6 separate regions of the Homo sapiens genome follow, and all the other regions are linked to region 5. Evidence: promoter capture Hi-C in 16 types of primary human blood cells and fetal thymus (Javierre and others, 2016). All regions are on one chromosome and are shown on one strand. Each heading gives the region's core, a stretch centred on a gene start or on the middle of the fragment in contact. The rest is flanking DNA. Distances are from core to core; before and after follow the strand shown. Region 1 has its middle 2.5 kb from the start of SSX2IP. Region 2 has its middle 64 kb from the start of SSX2IP. Region 3 has its middle 84 kb from the start of SSX2IP. Region 4 holds the start of TTLL7 (tubulin tyrosine ligase like 7). Region 5 holds the start of SAMD13 (sterile alpha motif domain containing 13). Region 6 overlaps TTLL7 (tubulin tyrosine ligase like 7).

Region 1 (3,237 bases), core at 197-2,696, 390 kb before region 5:
AGTAGATTCCCCCTCAAGATACCACTTTCTTTGTTCATCCATAAGAAGTAGCTCTTCATCTGTTCCAGTTTTATCCTGAGATTGAAGCAATTCAGTCACATCTTCAGGCTCCACTTCTAGTTCTAGTTTTATTGCTATGTCTACCACATCTCCAGTTACTTCTTCCACTGAAGTCTTGAACGCCTCAAAGTCATATATGAGGGTTTTAATCAACTTCTTCCAAACTCCTCTTAATGTTGATATATTTTGACCTCCTTCCGTGCCCATGAATGTTCTCAATGGCATCTAGAATGGTGAATCCTTTCCAGGTTTTCAATTTACTTTGCCCAGTTCCATCAGAGGAATCACTATCTATGGAAGATACAGCCTTATGAAATGTATTTCTCAAATAAGACTTAAAAGCCAAAATTACTCCTTTATCCATGGGCTGCAGAATAGATCTTGTGTTAGCAGGCAAAGCTCTTGGGTAACCAGGTGCATTATTAATGAGCAGTGAGATTTTGAAAGTAATCTTTTTTTCTGAGTCATAGGTCTCAACAGTGGACTTAAAATATTCACTAACCATGCTGTGAACAGATGTGCTGTCAGCCAGGCCTTGTTGTTCCATTGATAGAACACAGGCAAAGTCAATTTAGATATTTCTTAAGGGCCCTAGGATCTTTGGAATGGCAAATGAGCATTACCTCCAACTTAAAGTCAGTAGCTGGAGCCGGGCATAGTGGCTTACAGCACTTTGGGAGGCTGAGGGAGGTGGAGCATTTGAGCTCAGGAGTTTGAGACCAGCCTGGGCAACATGGTAAAACCCTGTCTCTACAAAAAATACAAAAATTAGCTGGGCATGGTGGTGTGTGCCTGTAGCCCCAGCTACTTGGGAGGCTAAGGTGGGAGGATTGCTTGAGGATCACTTGAGGCTGCAGTGAGCCGTGATCGCACCACTGCACTTCAGCCTGAGCAACACATTGAGACCCTGTGTCAAAAAATAAAAAATAAAAATAAAAAGTCAGCAGTTGCATTAGCCCCTAACAAGAGTCAGCCTGTCCTTTGAAGCCAGGCAGGGACTTCTCCTCTTTAGCTAGAAAAGTTCTATGTGGCATATTCTTCTAATAGAAGGCTTTCTTTTGGTCTACACTGAAAATCTGTTTAGTGTAGCCACCTTCATCAATCAGATCTTCTAGATAAATTGCTGCAGCTTCTACAGCGGCACTTGCTGCTTCACTTGGCACTTTCATGTGACGGAGATGGCTTCTTTCCTTAAACCTCATGAACCAAACTCTGCTAGCCTCAAACTTTTTAAATGAAGCTTCCTCATTTCTCTCAGCCTTCATAGAAATGAAGAATTAGGGCCTTGCTCTGGATAGGCTTTTGCTTAAAGGAATGCTGTGGCTGGTTTGATCTCTTATCCAGACCACTCAAACTTTCTACTTATCAGCAATAAGGCAGTTTCACTTTCTTTTCATGCCTGTGTTCAAGGGAGGAGGACTTTTAATTTCCTTCAAGAACTTTTTCTGTGCATTTATAACTTGGCTAACTGGAACAATAGGTCTAGCTTTCTGCCTATCTCAGCTTTCAAGATGCCTTCCTCACTAAGCTTAATCATTTCTAGCGTTTGATTTAAAGTGAGAGATATGTGACTCTTCCCTTCATTTGAACACTTAGAGGCCATTGTAGGGTTATTTATTGGCCTAATTTTAATATTGCTGTGTCTTAGGGAGTAGGGAGGCCCAAGGAGAGGGAGAGAGATGATCAGCCAGTCAGTGGAGCAGTCAACATATACATTGAATTGGCTGTCTTATAAGGGTGCAGTTTGCGGCACCCCCAAAATAATACAATAGTGACATCACAGATCACCGTAACATATTTAATGGAAAAGTCTGAAATATTTCAAAAATTACCGAAATGTGACAGAGACACCAAGTGAACACATGCTCTTAGAAAAAATGGTGCCACTAGACTTGCTCAATGCAGGGTTGAGCAACAAACCTTTATTAAAAAAAAATACAGTGCCTGTAAAGTGCAATAAATTGAAGTATAAAACGAGGTACGCATGTATTTTTCTTGCTTTTCTCTCGTGGTTGCAGAATATGCTGCCACAGCTCCAAACATGTCTGGCTTACTGGAGGATGTCCAAGGCAAGAAGGAAAAAACTTGTCCTTAGTCTGTCAGGATAAAATCCTTCCCCTGAAGCTCCTCATCCCCCACTCCCCATTATGGACTGAGCAGAATTAGGTCATATTTTTAGCCCCTTAACCAGTTATTGGTTAACAAAGAGGGACAGAGTACAAAGAGGTTTAGACCAGTGGTTTTCAAAGATCTGCTGAACCTTGGGGCGGCAAGTTTCCAAGACCCTTCCAGGGAGTCTGCAAAGTCAAAACTATTTTTGTTATAATACTAAGATATTATTTGCCTTTTTCCCTCTCATTATGAGTGCACAGTAGAGTTTTCCAGACGCTACCTGAAATAGCACAACAGATCGAATGCACAAACAGATATGAAAATCCAAATGCCTTCTATTAAGCAAGACATTAAAGATATGGGCAAAATTTTAAAGTAACACCATTCTTTTAACTAATTTTTTGAAAATAGTTATTTTTAATTAAAATGCGCTATTTGACATTTTTATTTTTATTCATTATTATTTTAAAAAATAGCAATTTTTAAATTTCTGTTTTAATATTAATAGCTGTAACCAACATAAAGAAAAGTTCTTGGGGCTCTCAATAATTTTACAAGTGGAAAGCGGTCTTGAGACCAAAAGATTGAGACCGCTGGTTTATTCAGGCAGATCTTATTCCTTTCCCGGGGTTGCTGAGGTCAGAGCTAAACTTCCCAGAGCTCAACTAAGCTTGGTTCAAACCTTTTAAAAATGTAACTGTTAATGGTAACGCCACCTGGGCTCAACAGCAGCTAGACGGGCCTCTGATTGCTTGGCCAAAGGAAAAGAGGAGGATTTCGTTGGGCCCTGAAGTTGTCACCGTGGCGTGCTTCTTCTGGCCCTGATCTTTCATCCAGGATTGGGGATACGTGCATGCAAACTGGGAGGTGGACATTCCTCCCGCTCTTGTTTTTCAGTGTTAGCATCTTCACTCATACTGTTTTGGTTTCAAAGTGCTCTCAGGAGTCTCCTTAAAACACCAAACCTGTTTTTCGCCTTTTGAATAAATCCCTTGGCTTCACCAAAACTAAACAAAACAAAAATCAAAGAACATCTTTGTGTAACCTATATGCCTGTGATTTCTC
Region 2 (2,953 bases), core at 76-2,575, 450 kb before region 5:
GAGGTAACTCAGAATGTCTTAATAATCACTTAATAGAATCTTATCATGAGAAGCAAATTGCATTAAATAGGCAAATGAAGTTGACGGTGAGAAGCAGAGTTAGGAAATAAAATGCTATGGGGGGTTTTATATGGGAAAAATCCAATTAACACCTTTTTAAAAGAGTTGGCCCCATGGCTTTTTTCATATCGCTCACAGTACCTATCACAGGGTTATGCCCTGAATAAACACTTTCTCAATCGATGCTAAAGAAATTATAGGTAAAAATGAAGGAGGAAGTGGGAGGTGCACCTAGAAGCCAACATTACAATTCTACTTAGAAGCAAATGGCAAAATAATTTCATTGTGAAGCTACTGTGCAAGCTTTGCAACGATGGTCCATTTCTTCCTTATTCTCGAGGAAAATGACCATCGTCATGTAATAAACACAAAACGCCAACCAGATAGATTGCATACGTACACATGAATGTGCTCTGGACTTAACCAAATTTGTGAAACCCTAGGGCTGGAAGAGCCAAGCCCAAGTGTTAAGGCAGCAAGATGACAAGAAGCTTGGCCAAAAGAGTTTGCGGGTGGAAGACACACTAGGAATTTTGTGTCCCACCCAAAGATAAGGAGACATCATGGAAGCTGCTGGAGACTTTTGTGACAGTGGGTGGGGTAAAAGAAGGGGTGGATTTTCCTCGGGTGAAATGATTTTGGGAGCATGTGGTCACTGTCAAAGCTGTGCTTTTCAAGAAAACCAAAGGGCGGCAGGAATGAAGAAAATCCAGACAGCCCATTCGCGATGCACAGATCCAACAGGCAGAGCCCAGGGGATGAGGTGTAGGGAGGCCAGCGGAAGGTGCTGCGGGGGTGGGAGGAGGTCAGATTCTGGGACAGGCCAAAGCGGTACAGACCAAAAAGTTGTGTGCCTGAGACTCAAACTGGACCAAAGTCGAAAGAACAGTCAAGACTGCACTCCAGAAATAGCACGAGATAATTGCATCATTAAGTGGAATTTTACGCCTAAATTGTATACATGTATGTGTACAGATGTATATATACACATATATTTATAAATGTGTATGTGTATTTCACACACACACACGACTTTCACTTTCATACTTTCACAGTTCCCTGTCATATGACCTTTTTTCTTACATAAGGGACATGCATCTGATTAAACAATGAACACATATTTATTATTTTTTAAAAATAAAATGAGCGGGGTGCGGAGTGGAGTGGAAGCACATGCCGCTAGCAAAATGGGCACCGGGGCTTCGGTCTTCGCTGAGAGAAATTGTCTCCATTTTCATATGAAGGACAAGATGGACCCTAAAGCAAATAATAATGTTTAGGAGAGCGCTGGGATCTATTTTTTCTCGCAATGTAAAGAAATTTTACCCCAGCTTTCCTCCTGGGTTAGCTCTATCAATATTAGGAGCCTTTCTGCAACCATGGTTTGTCTGCACTTCCTTTACTTAACACCTCCATTTGCTGCCATTTGCCTACCGCGGCGATGGTGTCGGGCATTGGCAGCGTCACTAAATCACCCTCATTTCCCGGCCCTATGACTGAAGCGGGCCCGGGCCATTATCGCCTAATGGCGTGTTCTGCTGCTGCGGCTCTTCTCAAATCCGCGATGGACAGGCCTCAGGATGCATTTTAGCGTCATTGTAATTGAGCGCGGAACGCTCTGGCTTTTTTAGACCTGTTTTCCGGTCTTGTAGGGGGTGACCGACGAGAGATAGCAAGCAGGTGCGATGGGCAGTGGGGGGGTCACCTTTTCACACCGAGGACAGCAGCAGCAAAGAACGATTCGCTGGGGGACGGAGGAAATGAGAAGCTAGGGCAGGCTTTTCAGCATCACCTAAAGACTTGAGTTGTCAAATGCAGCGTCCCTGCCAGCGCTGATTCTGCCCAGAGCGGCTCTGCTAACCTAATGGGTTTCCAAAATCTCCTCTGAGTGCTCAGATGTGAATCACCGACTTCCAGAATGCATGCTGTCTCTCAGCGGCACAGATTCCTGCTGGCCCCCTGGGGAATTTTAATAACATGTCATTTAACAAATTAGAAGGTGAAGCAAATTAAATACAGTAAATCAAAGCAAAGCTTGAAAAACAAAGTAGAATCAAGCAGGCCTTTTCAAAGCATGCAGATTTGAAAAATGTAAGGTTTCCAAATGGTTAGCAAAAAAGGGAAAAGTTACCATAGCAACTCCTAAAGTCTGTCTAGCTAGTGGCCACATGCTTTCAAGTGTCCTACTCTATAGTGGGAGATATTTGAGGGCAGTTTCTAGATTTTTTTTAAATTAAGGAAATGAATAAACAAGCTTAATGGATTAGTATCCACATTAAATTACAAGCATCAGCCTTCCAAGGCCTGAGATTTCTGGCAAGGAACAGCTGCTGTGGGTAATGCGGACTGGCCACTTGGTGTCGCTGTTGTTCCGCTGCTGGGTTCTGCAGCGCTGTCCCCCGCTGGTGAGATGTCCTCCCTTTCAAGTAGATGCTTTCTGTGAGCCGCCCTAACATGCATTTATTCAAAATGTATTTATAGTGTCTGCCATGTGCCAGAAACCATGCGAGTCTCTGGGGATAGGCTGGTGAACAGTTTGTGGAGTTCACAGTCTAGCAAGAGAGACAACCAAACAAATGAAATAATTACACTTTGTGATTAGGTCTATGAAGGAAAAGATCAGACTCCTAGGATGGAGACTAAGGTGGGCAACAGCTTTTTTGCAAAGTCGTCAGAGAAGACCTGTCTGATGACTTATTAGGCTGAGACCTGAAGGATAAGAAGGGCCGTGGACCTGGAAGGGATAGGTGAAGAGTGTACGAAGAAGAGGGACAGCGAAGCCCACCAGGGCTGCTGCACAATGAGGGAAGAGGTTGTGGCCAGGGATGAGCAGGTAGGGACCGGATCATGCAGAAACCTTTAGGCCAGGGTCACGCTTCTGTTCAGATGTTAT
Region 3 (3,058 bases), core at 89-2,588, 470 kb before region 5:
TTTTTTATTATTATCAGACATCTTGGTGCATCAGAACCAGGACCTGTAAAGGGTGATACTTCGTTAGCTCAAAGAGCCAGGTGGGAGCAGGGTGGACCCTGTGTGTGAACCAAGCATTTCTCCCGCTGAGAGGTGGCGCTATGGAGAGGATGGAAAGGGCTTGCCCTGAGGCACTGACTGGAAGGTGAACCGTGCTCCTCCGCTGCTCTGGGAATTGGCTTTGGTCATTCCTCACTCCTGAGTTGCCTGCCAGCCAAGGGAGGTGCATGTGTTGGGGGAGAAATCCCATCATCATCAACAGCCAGGCCCAGGCCTTTCCTGTGGAGGGTGTATAGCCTGCAGAGCTTAAGGAATTCCTCCCTAGCAGCAAGTCAACCACACCCCCTTTACCTGGGATTTTGGCAGCGTGGATGCTTTTTAAAAGGGCAGATTTTATTTCATTGCAAACAAAAGAGGCATTCAGGCTCCAGGGCACTCTCCTCCCTGGCAGCATCCTCCCAGGCCTGGTGAGAGCGCTCCCTGCAGACCCTCAGGGCAGGCCACACTGCCTCTCAGATGAAGGAGAGGAAGATGGATGGACCGCCACGGGCAAGCCTTCTCTGTGGGAACATAAAGCCCAGCATCTGCTTGGGGCAGAAGCCCCGGGGTGCCCCATGAGAAAGCCGTCAGGGCCCTTGGTGTGCAGTCAGGCAAGCTGATGGGCTGGGCAGCCGCTGCCAGTTAGGGAACACAGAATGCTCCTTCACAGTACAGCGAGTCCATCTGGGCAGGAGCCCTCCACAGCCGGCCTCTCTGGGAATGTGTCTTTGCCATTTGGAAGGCCAAGAGCCATCATCGTTCATTCAGACGCCTCCTGTGAGGCCAAGGAGGCTGGTCCATTGTTCCTGCCTCCCCATTCCCTCTGTCCTCCCACCCACAGCCTGGGGTGCACCTCTCCTCCTCACAGCTGCTGCCTGTGAGTTGTGCAAGGCAGACCTCTTAGAAGTCTCGCTTGGAACTGCCTAGAAGGAGATAGGCATGTTTTAATGGGAATGTAGGCATTTGGTGTGTTTACTGATGTTTCCTGGACAATCTCTTGTCAAAGGTTGAGCCTTTCTGTGTCTCAGAAAGGGAAAAACACATGTGTGGGTTTACACATTGCTGAGAGAGCAGGCAGAAAGCTGCTGCCAGACCATCAGTTTCATCCTCATCATCGGAAAGTATCTTCTAAGCACCTGATTGCCCATCACACCAAATAAAGAGGAAGTCTTGTGTGGGAGGCCACTGAATTGGAAGGGAGGAGGTGTGGATTCCTATCCCTGCTCTGCTTCTAAGCAGCTCTGTGCCTTTTCACTCGGCATGGCTTCCCTTGCTCCAATTCCACAGTGCTATCCCAGATACAGCCCTTCCCCTCTGCATTCCCCAGCCCCTGCCCACAGCAGACATGGCTAATCAATCATGTTCCCATGGCGCCTTACAGCATGGCCTCAGAGACATTAACACAGAGCTCCCGACAGCCACTGCTCACTGATTTGAAGGGCCCTCAAGATTAAACCTGTTTGCTATCACTTCCCTAAAGGAATTTATCACCTGGGAATGAAATTCTATACCAAAAACAGTCCAGGTCACTGGAAAACAAAAGGTTACAAATCAAGAAAGCAATAAGCCCACCTGAACAATCTGGACTGACCAGGTAAGTCATACTTTGGCAAAGACAGATATCCTCGCTTAATCATTTTACTGGGACAGATCCAAGGTTAGAGAAAGTGAAACATACCCTAAATCAGAAATGCCCTTTCTTTCACATATGGAGTTCTGGGAGGGAAGGTACCTTACTCCTGCCCTCTTCGCTTCCTAGATGGGGAGAGGGAGGCCTCAGTGGTTGTGACTTCCCAGGCCCCTCAGTTTGGTGGTGACCTTGTCAAACAAGAGTCCAGGATTTTTGGTCCCCAGCCCAGTGCTCCTTCTACCCACTGACACCCATTGTCTTGCTAGGCAAGGAAAAAACTCCACACTGCTATTTAAAGCACAGGCAATTAATGGTTTTCAATAGTGTTTGTGATGAAAATTAATGAACTATGAGCCAAAGGCCCCTCATTGAGATCATAAAAACAAATGACTAAACCCTGCGTGATTGGACAAGGGAGTCAGAGTTCCTTCATGTTATTGTAACTCCACCACTCCCTTTGGTTATGTGGGGAGTCACCGAACCTGTTTTCAAACCTTGGTTTTCTTGCCCGTACAATGGGCACCAACAGTGCTGCCTGTACTTGCCTCGCCAGGACATAGAAGCCAAAAGCAAACGACATGGAACTTCCAGATCCAGATTAACAGCAGTCACCATGAGCGGAGTGACATGATGTCTGCTATTAGGTAGTCAGCTGCAATTCTGGAATCACCGGCAACATTTGACAAATCCCAGGATATGTTGGGTAAGTGCTCCACAGCTCAGATGATTCCAACTCTAAGGGTCATGCAGGCTTCAGAAGTAGTTTTTATTTAGATAGGAGTGTCAGGGGAGGAACCTAGAAAGACCTTCCGTCGGATGAAGGATTTCTCCAAATCAGCAGTACACCTAAGGGGTCCCCTGCCTCTTTTTGCTTCAGGTATCTGGAGGAGGGTTCTGACAGCAGGGCTGAGGCCCAGGATGACAGTGCTGCATGCCTGCCTAATGACTGTTAACCAGGGAGCAGCTGAAAGCGTTAAGGATCAGTGTGTAACAGATCAGCATACAGAGAGAGTACCCCAAACACATCTCTTCTGGGTGGTATTTATCAGGGCACCTTGCTGGGTGTTCTTGACATCAGGAACCTGGCTTTGTAACCACATGCCCACCGCACTAAGGCCTTTGCCATAAGGAGTGGCAGTGTGTTCACACAGCATATCTTTCTAGGACATGTATTAAACATGTGTTCCTCCCAGGTCTGGCAGTTTGCCACAGTCCTGCAAAGGGCTGAAATGGCTTTGTTCTCTTGTTCCAGTTGAGGCGGGACCTGAACGCAGAAGGGAGAAAAAGGCCTCTGAGTCCACCACTAGGTGGCGCAAGAGCTCTACCGGTGAGACTGACTGGTCCAAGGAC
Region 4 (3,010 bases), core at 192-2,691, 300 kb after region 5:
GGAAGGATAAACAGACTCACATTCAAGTTGCAATCACAGATGTGACACGGTTTAATGTATATCGTTCTCAGAGGCATTCTAGGGGAAAGGAACAAGTCAAAAACTCCAGGTGGCAATGTCTGCTCTGCCGCTTATGATCGTGAGACTAACCCAGCACGACAAACCCTGAGCCCAGTTTCTCACCAGTGTCCTTTATGAGAAGATGCCCTCACTGACCAGATCAGTTCCCAATGCTGGCAAGGCTGTATGGAGGTCTATTGCAGGTTACCAATCTCACAGGAGTTTTTAGAAGAATAAATGAAGAAATGAAAATGAGACTATTCTCAGCACAGTGGTCTATAGAAAGTGCTGAATTTATGTTGATTTACTCAACGAAGGACAAAACTTTAAATTGTGAAATTTTATATTTTTTGGGATGCACTTGGAGGGCCTTTTTTTTTCCTACCTTTAATCACATTTTATAGGTAGTTGCCAATTCTGTTCTATCTTTTCTTTTTTTCTACAGGGAAAACTGTACACTTGTCCTGATCTTCACCATGCTCTGAAATGAACCTGTGTGAACCCAGCGTGACAGAAGCAGGGACCACAAAAGTCTAAGGAATTCATGTGTTAGGACTTCTTCCAGTTCTATACAATTCATTTTATGAGAAGACATGATTGCCTTCCCGTTTTCAAGACACGCAACTCTAAAATGGTGAACAATGAACCTCGAATATTCTTTAATTTCTGCAACAATCTTCTGTAAATCTTTATCTCGAAATGGCTTCCTAAATCTACATTTTTTTACAACTGCCGTGGTTCAACATTTGCTTAGCAGGAACTCTAGGTCAGAGCTGTCCCTCAGCATCTACGGGATGGGGCCCCACCTGATTTTATTTCCTAACTTTCGAGCTGGCCTCAGATACCCGTTTATTCTTTGCTTCACAAAGATGCTTAGATAAAAGATCTGAAGACTCTCTTCAAAGATTCAAAAAGCTCCACTGTTTTGTGGGAAGATGTCTGTGGTCAGATAGGCAGGTGGATCGGGCGCCTAGGGCCCGGAGGTAGAAGGAGGTGGCCGGAGGCGCTCAGGCCAGCGCCTCTCGCATCTCTGAGGAGGGGCGCCGCCCAGGCGCTCGCGTTGCTAAGTCCTCTGTTTGCCGCGTTCTAAAGGAGCCCCGAGCGGGACCAAGGCAAACGGGGGGGGGGTGTGTGTGGCCCGGGAAAGCTCGAGCAGTGTCTTCAGTAAACCCCCAGAAGAGGCAGCGGCCCCTCCGTTGATCCCTCCTGTCCCCAGGACCTCCTGACTCCGAGGGGGCAGAGGATTCCCCGAGTCCTTTGTTCCTCCCAACCGTCGCCGCCCCCGGCGCCCGCGCCTCTCGGCACGTCGTGCACCCCCGGCCGCAGCAGGCGAATGGTCTGGCCCGTCGGTAGCCGCCACCCGCTTGGGCAGCGACAGCTGTTCCAGGCACTCCGCGTCGAGCACCGGAGTCCCGAGCCGTGGCTGCCACGGGCGGTGGGCGGGCGGAGGAGAGCACCGGACCACCAGTGCAGGCTGCCGAGTCGGGGCGGCCGCCCACGGGGAAGCTGCGAGGCGCGGGAGCACCTGGGGGACCGCTTGCAGCGGGGACGCGAGGACCCGGGCTGGGCTTTCCTCACCCGGGTGAGTACCTGCTGCCGCCATCCTCCCCCGACCCCCTTCCATGTCCCCACGTCCCCAAAGGCTCCGCCCTGGCCCTCTTTCCGGGCCCCCATCCCCGGACTGTCACTGCTCTGGGGACACCGTCCCCGCTGGGAGCCGCGGAACGGGGAGCTGCTGCGTTCGTGCAAATGATTCAGCACCATTCGTGCCCTGAGAGGTTTGGGCAGAATGGGGGAGGGAGAGGGCGGAGGGGACGGGGTCAGTTGCTGTGATCTCAGCTCAGTTTTTAGGCTCCAGATGGGAGACTCGGGCGGGCGGGGTCGGGTTGGGTGAACGAGGAGGCTCCCTGCTGGTTTATTCTGTAATTCCGTCGTTTTCCCACATCGTGGTATAAGCCTCCGCGAGTATGCGGGGCATTCTTGAAAGGGTATCAAAATGCCCTTTTCGCACATGCGAGTGAAGTCTAGGGCCCTTGTAGGTACCTCTCACTTTCTCCACATCTTGCTCTGTTGGATGCCTGACTCATGCCATCATCCACTTATATCACATCGCAGCGTTCCCTCGACTGATGTAAAAGATACCCTATGAAAGTTGCCTTGTATTCTGGGTGGGTTTGATTGATCCTGGCATAGAAAGAAAAGATTTAGGAGAGGTAGGAAATAATACCTTCATAGCCTAGGCACTTACTTTTATATATCGTATTTTATTAAATCATCATAATCCAGAACCAAATGTGGAAACTGAGGAGCAGGGAAGTTAAATTACATTCTCAAGGTCACAGAACAGGAATTCGAATATAGGTTTTCCTGACTCTATAGTCCATGGATTTTCCACTGTATTAATGGAGTGTGTCCAAGTGTACATATATATGCTCTATTAGATATTAAACATAGAATTAATTAATTGAGGAGTAATCTCAAACAACAGCAACAACAACCTGTAAACTTTCTGCATAAGGAATTATTGCTCCTTCAATATGAAAGAAAGATGCTTTGAATCATGTGAAAAATAATCTATTTTCTTAGAAAGCTTATGGCAAAAAATATGTGAACAACACTACATAGGAGAGTGAGGTCATAACAGGAGATGTTCAGCACATTTTTGGCAGTGATATTTGGTGGATGCTCAAGTGTTGGAGAAGTCGATTAAAAACGTAAGAAGAACTCTGGAAATCTTTTTCTGTCTTAAATGTTAGGGAGACATTTACAGTAATAATAGTTACTTAGTTCATGAGGTGTGCGACTGAACTGCACCCCACAATAGGGTGACAGGTGAACCCATACTAAGATAATGTTACTTGATTCATTACAACTCTGTGATATTGCATAACAGGTGATAACTCCATTTTACAGACTAAGGAACAAAATTCAGAGAAGGTTCAAGACCACT
Region 5 (2,910 bases), core at 42-2,541:
TACTGGCACTCCCTGCCTTGACAATAAGCATTTGCAAATGAAATTGAATCCTCGTTGAAAACAAGTGCTGTGTGAACTGGCACAGCTTCTTCTGGGTGCCTAGCTCTCACTTAAGACACTGCAACTCATAAATGAGTCAAAGTAGAGAAAAACAATCCCCCTTTTCCTGCCCCCCTCCCATTATGGGCTTTGATTTGTTTTTTCTTATTGTGTTTGGTTTTTTTTTTGTCCACTCCCCCTTGCTCCTAGATTTTTTCATTGCAATGCAGAAGGACACTTAAAGCTTTTGTCAGCAAGTATTCCCCTACCTCACATTCTCAACGAAAGCCTCAAAAACCCGTCTGTGAGATGGCCATGCTGTGGTAAAGCAGGAAGCTCACAAAAAATGCCAGATAGCCCTTAGCACAGAAAGGTGGTGCTGGTGTGTGTGTGTGTGTGTGTGTGTGTGTGTGTGTGTATGTGTAAGAAAGAGTAGGTAACTCATTAGATTTATGAAAAATCATCAAAACATTTAAGGAGATATTGTAGCATCCATCACTCTGTCTTTTTGTTTAGTAGGATGAGGGCTGTGGAAAATTAAAAGCCTTCCACAATTAATATGCAATTAGCAAAATGAAAAAGCTACGAACAAAACTGCTTTAAGAAAAAAAAAAAAAAAAAAGGAAGAAACAGTCCCGAAACGTGTTTGCTCTTATTCAGCTGAAGCCATAAATTAAATACATTTCCACTCAAATCACTTTATACTTCGGCACTCCTTCTCTAGGGATTACTCTGACATGGCAAGTGCATCATTTAGTATATTCGCAAGATTTTATCACTGTTAGAGAAGTAGATGATTAACAAATAACACTGTAAGTGTGGGATAATTTTCACTCCTGAAACACACACATACACACAAACTTCCAGCTGCAAACCACTTAGATCATTGATAGAGAAATCCAACATTTAATATATATATATAGATATTAGCATACATTCACACACCGTTAGAGAGTAGACAGGAAGATAGTGCTGCTGCTCCATGCTAACAGAATATGATTTCACTTCAGTTGGAAACTGTTACACATTCACCATTTTCTAAGCATCTCAGAAAACAAAACAAAACACTCACAATGATACTCTGCAACACCACACTACATTGTCTTATTATTATTACTATTATTTTCTTTTCTGTGGAAGAGTAAAAAGAAAACCTACCTATAAGCAACTAAAAAATATCATTTTTTATAGGCTTATCAAGAACAGCCAAAGAAACCCCAATGTTTTCTTTCACAAAGTAGGCTGGCAAAGGAATTCAATAAGGAGGTACAATTTGACACAGTGAAATAAAACCAGGCTGGCTCTCAGCCAACATGACGTTAGGAATCACACACAAGCTGCACCAACTGCCTTCTGGTTCATGGCTGACTTTTTAAAGCTACAGTGTGCCTGTTCACTTTTGCTAACTACCTTCAGCACAATTAGTGCAAGAAATGAGTAAGGAGTCCAAAACCTGCAGAATTCTCCCTGCACCTGTCTTGTACAAAGAAAAACAAGCTGTCTCAATAGCTTCTTATTTTCTCCCTCCCCTTCATTGTTGCTGCATGATAGGTCTTAGCTGTTGTTCTGAGCATGAATGTCATGTTTCAAACTATTTCCTTTTCTCCCCAGAGGGAAAAATAAGAGTGAGAAGCCAGTGCTTATGGGCTATAACCAGAGAACACTCGGAAGCTGCAGTCCCATGTTACTCTTTTTTTCCTAATAGAGATTCATGGACAAAGTTCCCAGGGCTGGCTTTTAAGTAATCTCTTTGTGAGAATAAGGAAAGCACTGCCCAGCAGCAAATCCTTTTACTTCATTATGCAGGAAGTAACATATTTCGGAAAGGATGCAAAATAGATGACCAGATCTCCTGAAAACGCCCACATTCTTTTATTTTGGCATTTATCCTGCCAAATGAAGCCAGCAAAAATTCAAACTGAAACAAACAAAACCTTATTCTACAAAACGAAAACAATTAGTTCTGGGAGGTTTAATTTTAACTGTTTATCCCAGTTGGACAAAAAGCATAATTCAAGAAATTTAACCAACACTTACAATCTATGAGTACCCGGTACTATATTAGTTACATATGAATAGAAAGACATTATGCCCACCCCAAAATTCATAGTCTCTCCCGCCATCATCCTAAATACCAAATCAGAAAACTGGGAGGTGGAGCAGAGAGGCTGGGCAAGATCTTTTGTTTAAGTTACCCTGGTCATTCTCACAGTTCCCTTGCTTGGCTTAAACCACTTTTCCAGGAGAATAATCTCATCCCATTAATGTTCTGCACATACACAGAAAACATACATGGTTGCCTCTTCATTGAAATAAACATCAATCAACATTTGGACACTTTTAGGTCAAGATGGTCAACAAAACCACTCAAGACAGGGCACAGAACACAGGTTCCCCAGAAAGATCCTGGAAAAAGTTATCACTTGCTGTAATATCCTGTAGAATTCAGGTAGAATCTGAGGAAAAAGCTGCCTGCTTCCCTTTTTAAAAATAATCTTTTAGGACATTAGGAGATTACCTTTGATCTAAATTTGGAACCTGAATTTCAAGGTCAAAAAATTTGTTCTTTACTTATTCCAGGAATTATATTAGAAATTTTTGACTTCCTTGAAGATCAGTGCCAAGAAAGATTTCAAATATTTGCCATTGCTCCCTTGAAAAGGCAAACAATAGTAATCTAGGAACCAATTAAATATTTTTGAGCAGTATTTTTTGAGCATGGGTCAGGCATGTGGATCTTTCACCAGTGCTGATCTCAAAATGATGGACTTTTATGTAGATAAAGAGCTCTTTCACTAACAGATTCCTTAACGCTTTTGGACTTGATCTGAAATTCCTGAACTATTCTCCCAGTAAATCCAAATTGGAAGC
Region 6 (2,970 bases), core at 263-2,762, 380 kb after region 5:
GGAACCCTTCCACAATATCACCCTTGACAGATTCAAACCCCCCCACCCCACCCAGCTCATTGTGTTCTTGGACAGATTGCCCACTTTCCAACTTTTGACATTGCCTGAGCAGGATAAAGGAATGTGTGAGGGCGTTCTTGCACTCATGGTAAGATGTTCTTTCATGGCCTTAACACCATCAACAGTAGTGATAAGAACACATTCCTCCCACTCTACCTCTACCCACTTCTCTCTACTAGAGAGGCAAATTCCACCACTACAAAAGAGATCATCAGAACCACTGCTTACATTTTTGTATACTTCAGTAACCACACTAAGTAAAAACACTCCTGCAGTATCCCTTATTACCTGAACACTCTCCTATAAAGTTCAGTATTTCTCCAATTTGCCCAATCACCATTCTTCCCCAACCATTTCCCCCCAACTAAACCCTTATACTGTACCTTCTGGAACTGCATTGTTTAATGCTAATTCTCTAGATAAACTTTGTTTGTGGATTTGTGCCACTATTAATGAATAGACTGAAAACCTTCATAAAGTTCTAAAAATACTCTTGTGCAATCATTAAAGTTTTGAAAGAATTTTATTAATTAGTGCCCAGTCAGCAAATACTCACATTAGAAAGTTACTAAGTGAATCTATTAGGCCAGTTATCAGTTTTCTGTCTGGAGGTTTAATATTTAATATCATTTTGCACTAATCAGTATAGAAATGCTTATACCTGGCAATGTGACTGGTATAGAATAGATGGTCAAGGATTGTCTATGGAGTTGATGTTAACTATTGAGCTACGACAGCTTCTTTTTAAAAAATTGGTTTATCTGATTTTGTTGTAGACGAATTTATCCTCCTGAAGATAAAGCATTACTTGAAAAGTATGAAAATTTGTTAGCTGTTGCCTTTCAGACCTTCCTTTCAGGAAGAGCAGCTTCATTCCAGCGAGAGTTGAATAATCCTTTGAAAAGGATGAAGGTAAGAGAATGAATGTTTATATAGAGAAAAAAGAATAAAGCTAAACAATATGTCTTTACAGACAAGCCACCTTGGTCCGACATATAAAAACATTTTACTTTTAAGATATGCTTTCCCCAAGCTTTCTATTTTAACAGTTGGTAACATTTCATGATGAACCAACTTACTTCATAAGATATCTACCAAGAAAAATTATGGAGTAGAGAATTGTGATATTATGTTGTAATATCAATATATTATAATAACGTATCTTCTTACATAGATGTGTATATGTAACTGGATAAAGAAACCCATGGAATTAACCTAGTGGTTTGTAGCGTTTTTATTTTTTGGATTATAACAAACATTACATAATACTTTTTCTTGATGCTATGTAGATCTAGCATATGAGAGGAAGTAAATGAAACACACACACACACACACACACACACACACACACTCTAATCTGTACACCATAGTAAAAGGTCTAGCAGTTTTCTATTATAGCATAACAAACCACTTCATTTATTTGCTCATTACTCTGCAATCGTGGCTGGGCACAGCTGAGTGGTTCTTCCGCTTGTCTTTCCTGGGGTGAATCATATAGTAGCATGTATCTGAATGCCCAACTGGGGCTAGAAATCCAGGGTAGCTTCACTCACATGTCTGGTGTGTCAGATAAGATAGCTGAAACATCTGGGAGCTGGCTGGTATCTCTTTCTCCCTACACAGTCTCTCAGCAGGGTAGTCAGACCTCTCAATATAGTAGCTCAGGATTCTAAAAGGGAGCATTTCAAGAAGATTCTTTTTATCCTAGTAGGAGCTCTCTATTTTAGACTTGATCTCTGCCTACATATGTCCAGACATGACAGATGACCCCAAAGAAGAAAATGGCCACTCATCTCTGCTCACCTAGGAAGAACTTGTTCCTCTTTGGAATTTAGTTTCTTTACATTACTTTTTACCTAAAGTAAAGCTTTCTGATGTTTTAGAAAATATGATTGTTTAGTTTATCTGGCCTTTTCTGGCTGTTATGATGAAAGTATTATCTGTTATATTTCTCCTAAACAGAAGCAGAACTCCTTGAGTTTCTTTTTGGCTATATTGTACTGCTATCCATGGAATTCATTGTAAGATTATTATTTAATAAAAAATGTATAATAAGAGTATTTTGGGATTTCAATAGCTAAATTTCCTTAGATTGGGACAAAGAGTAACTTACTTTACACATTTCTACTGCACAGTGAGATTTCTAGTTTCTTCAAAAACCTTTTCTAGAATCCTTTCTTAAATAACTAAATGATACAGTTGATTATACCTCTTTCAGTGTAGCTATTATACTCGTATTGTCCTGGCTTGCCTAATATCCACTGGGGTATATGCTTTTACAAAATTTCCTTTTGATTCAGAATATGACTCTAGTAGAACGCAGGAAAGGTGTTAGGGCACTTGTGGCTTTTTGCTACCTTTGATGACTATAGAATGAAAACCTTTATAAAGTTCTAAAAATACTTTGTGCAATCATTAAAATTTTGAAAGAGTTTCATTAAATAGTGCCCAGTCAGCAAATACTCACATTAGAATGTTTCTAAGTGAAACTGTTAGTCCAATTATCAGTTTTCTGTCTGGAGGTTTAATATCATTTTGCACTAATCTGTATAGAAATGATTCATAAACTTGAAATCTGGAAAACAGCATGAACTTTCCAGAAATTTTAGTGTCCAATGGGCTAATTTATTGAAGTATTATACTCTAAGATTTTAATACTATACTGTACTATAAAGATACATTTGTTTAGGATAATTAATACAGAATAGATTTTGGCTATGTATTAATTATAATGCCAGATTTTAGTGAAAGTTTCAAGAGAATTTGCTGTGACCCTTTAATATTTCTCCTTTTTTCTGAGCAATCTTCACTAAATAATTTCAGGAATCCTTGCTCTGCATTATTTTGTGGAGATTAATCAACTTGGAAAAATTCTAGAGTCCATTAGTGGTTGTAATTTTAATTAGAATA

Evidence for each region. Contacts are between HindIII fragments. The CHiCAGO score rates a contact against its expected background, and 5 or more counts as called.
Region 1: a fragment that was not itself captured here is called in contact with the fragment with the promoter of SAMD13 in region 5 in 1 of 17 cell types (fetal thymus); the score reaches 6.3 in fetal thymus.
Region 2: a contact is called between a fragment that was not itself captured here and the fragment with the promoter of SAMD13 in region 5, in 7 of 17 cell types (fetal thymus, M1 macrophages, M2 macrophages and 4 more). The highest score is 9.4, in fetal thymus.
Region 3: a contact is called between a fragment that was not itself captured here and the fragment with the promoter of SAMD13 in region 5, in 4 of 17 cell types (fetal thymus, M2 macrophages, M0 macrophages and 1 more). The highest score is 7.5, in fetal thymus.
Region 4: the fragment with the promoter of TTLL7 here is called in contact with the fragment with the promoter of SAMD13 in region 5 in 1 of 17 cell types (erythroblasts); the score reaches 5.3 in erythroblasts.
Region 6: a contact is called between a fragment that was not itself captured here and the fragment with the promoter of SAMD13 in region 5, in 1 of 17 cell types (erythroblasts). The highest score is 6.9, in erythroblasts.

What each region holds. Positions count from the first base shown.
Region 1 is chr1:84,691,318-84,694,554 of GRCh38, reverse strand. No RefSeq gene overlaps it. Among named protein-coding and RNA genes, the nearest start is that of SSX2IP, 2.5 kb to the right of the region's middle. The HindIII fragment of the contact is 288 bases long and covers 1,303-1,590 here.
Region 2 is chr1:84,753,197-84,756,149 of GRCh38, reverse strand. No RefSeq gene overlaps it. Among named protein-coding and RNA genes, the nearest start is that of SSX2IP, 64 kb to the right of the region's middle. RefSeq lists a silencer at 2,456-2,505. The HindIII fragment of the contact is 1,543 bases long and covers 554-2,096 here.
Region 3 is chr1:84,772,487-84,775,544 of GRCh38, reverse strand. No RefSeq gene overlaps it. Among named protein-coding and RNA genes, the nearest start is that of SSX2IP, 84 kb to the right of the region's middle. RefSeq lists an enhancer at 186-685. The HindIII fragment of the contact is 3,509 bases long and covers 1-3,058 here.
Region 4 is chr1:83,997,563-84,000,572 of GRCh38, reverse strand. It overlaps TTLL7 (tubulin tyrosine ligase like 7), which reads left to right and starts at 1,441. Exons shown (of 21, transcript NM_024686.6): 1 at 1,441-1,642. LOC124904205 (a long non-coding RNA gene) reads right to left here and starts at 1,285. Exons shown (of 2, transcript XR_007066195.1): 1 at 867-1,285. RefSeq lists silencers at 1,542-1,641, 1,652-1,781. The HindIII fragment of the contact is 3,041 bases long and covers 1-2,652 here.
Region 5 is chr1:84,300,089-84,302,998 of GRCh38, reverse strand. It overlaps SAMD13 (sterile alpha motif domain containing 13), which reads right to left and starts at 1,291. Exons shown (of 4, transcript NM_001134663.2): 1 at 1,198-1,291. The HindIII fragment of the contact is 6,789 bases long and covers 286-2,910 here.
Region 6 is chr1:83,917,701-83,920,670 of GRCh38, reverse strand. It overlaps TTLL7 (tubulin tyrosine ligase like 7), which reads left to right. Exons shown (of 21, transcript NM_024686.6): 13 at 837-972. Among named protein-coding and RNA genes, the nearest start is that of LINC01725, 58 kb to the right of the region's middle. The HindIII fragment of the contact is 834 bases long and covers 1,096-1,929 here.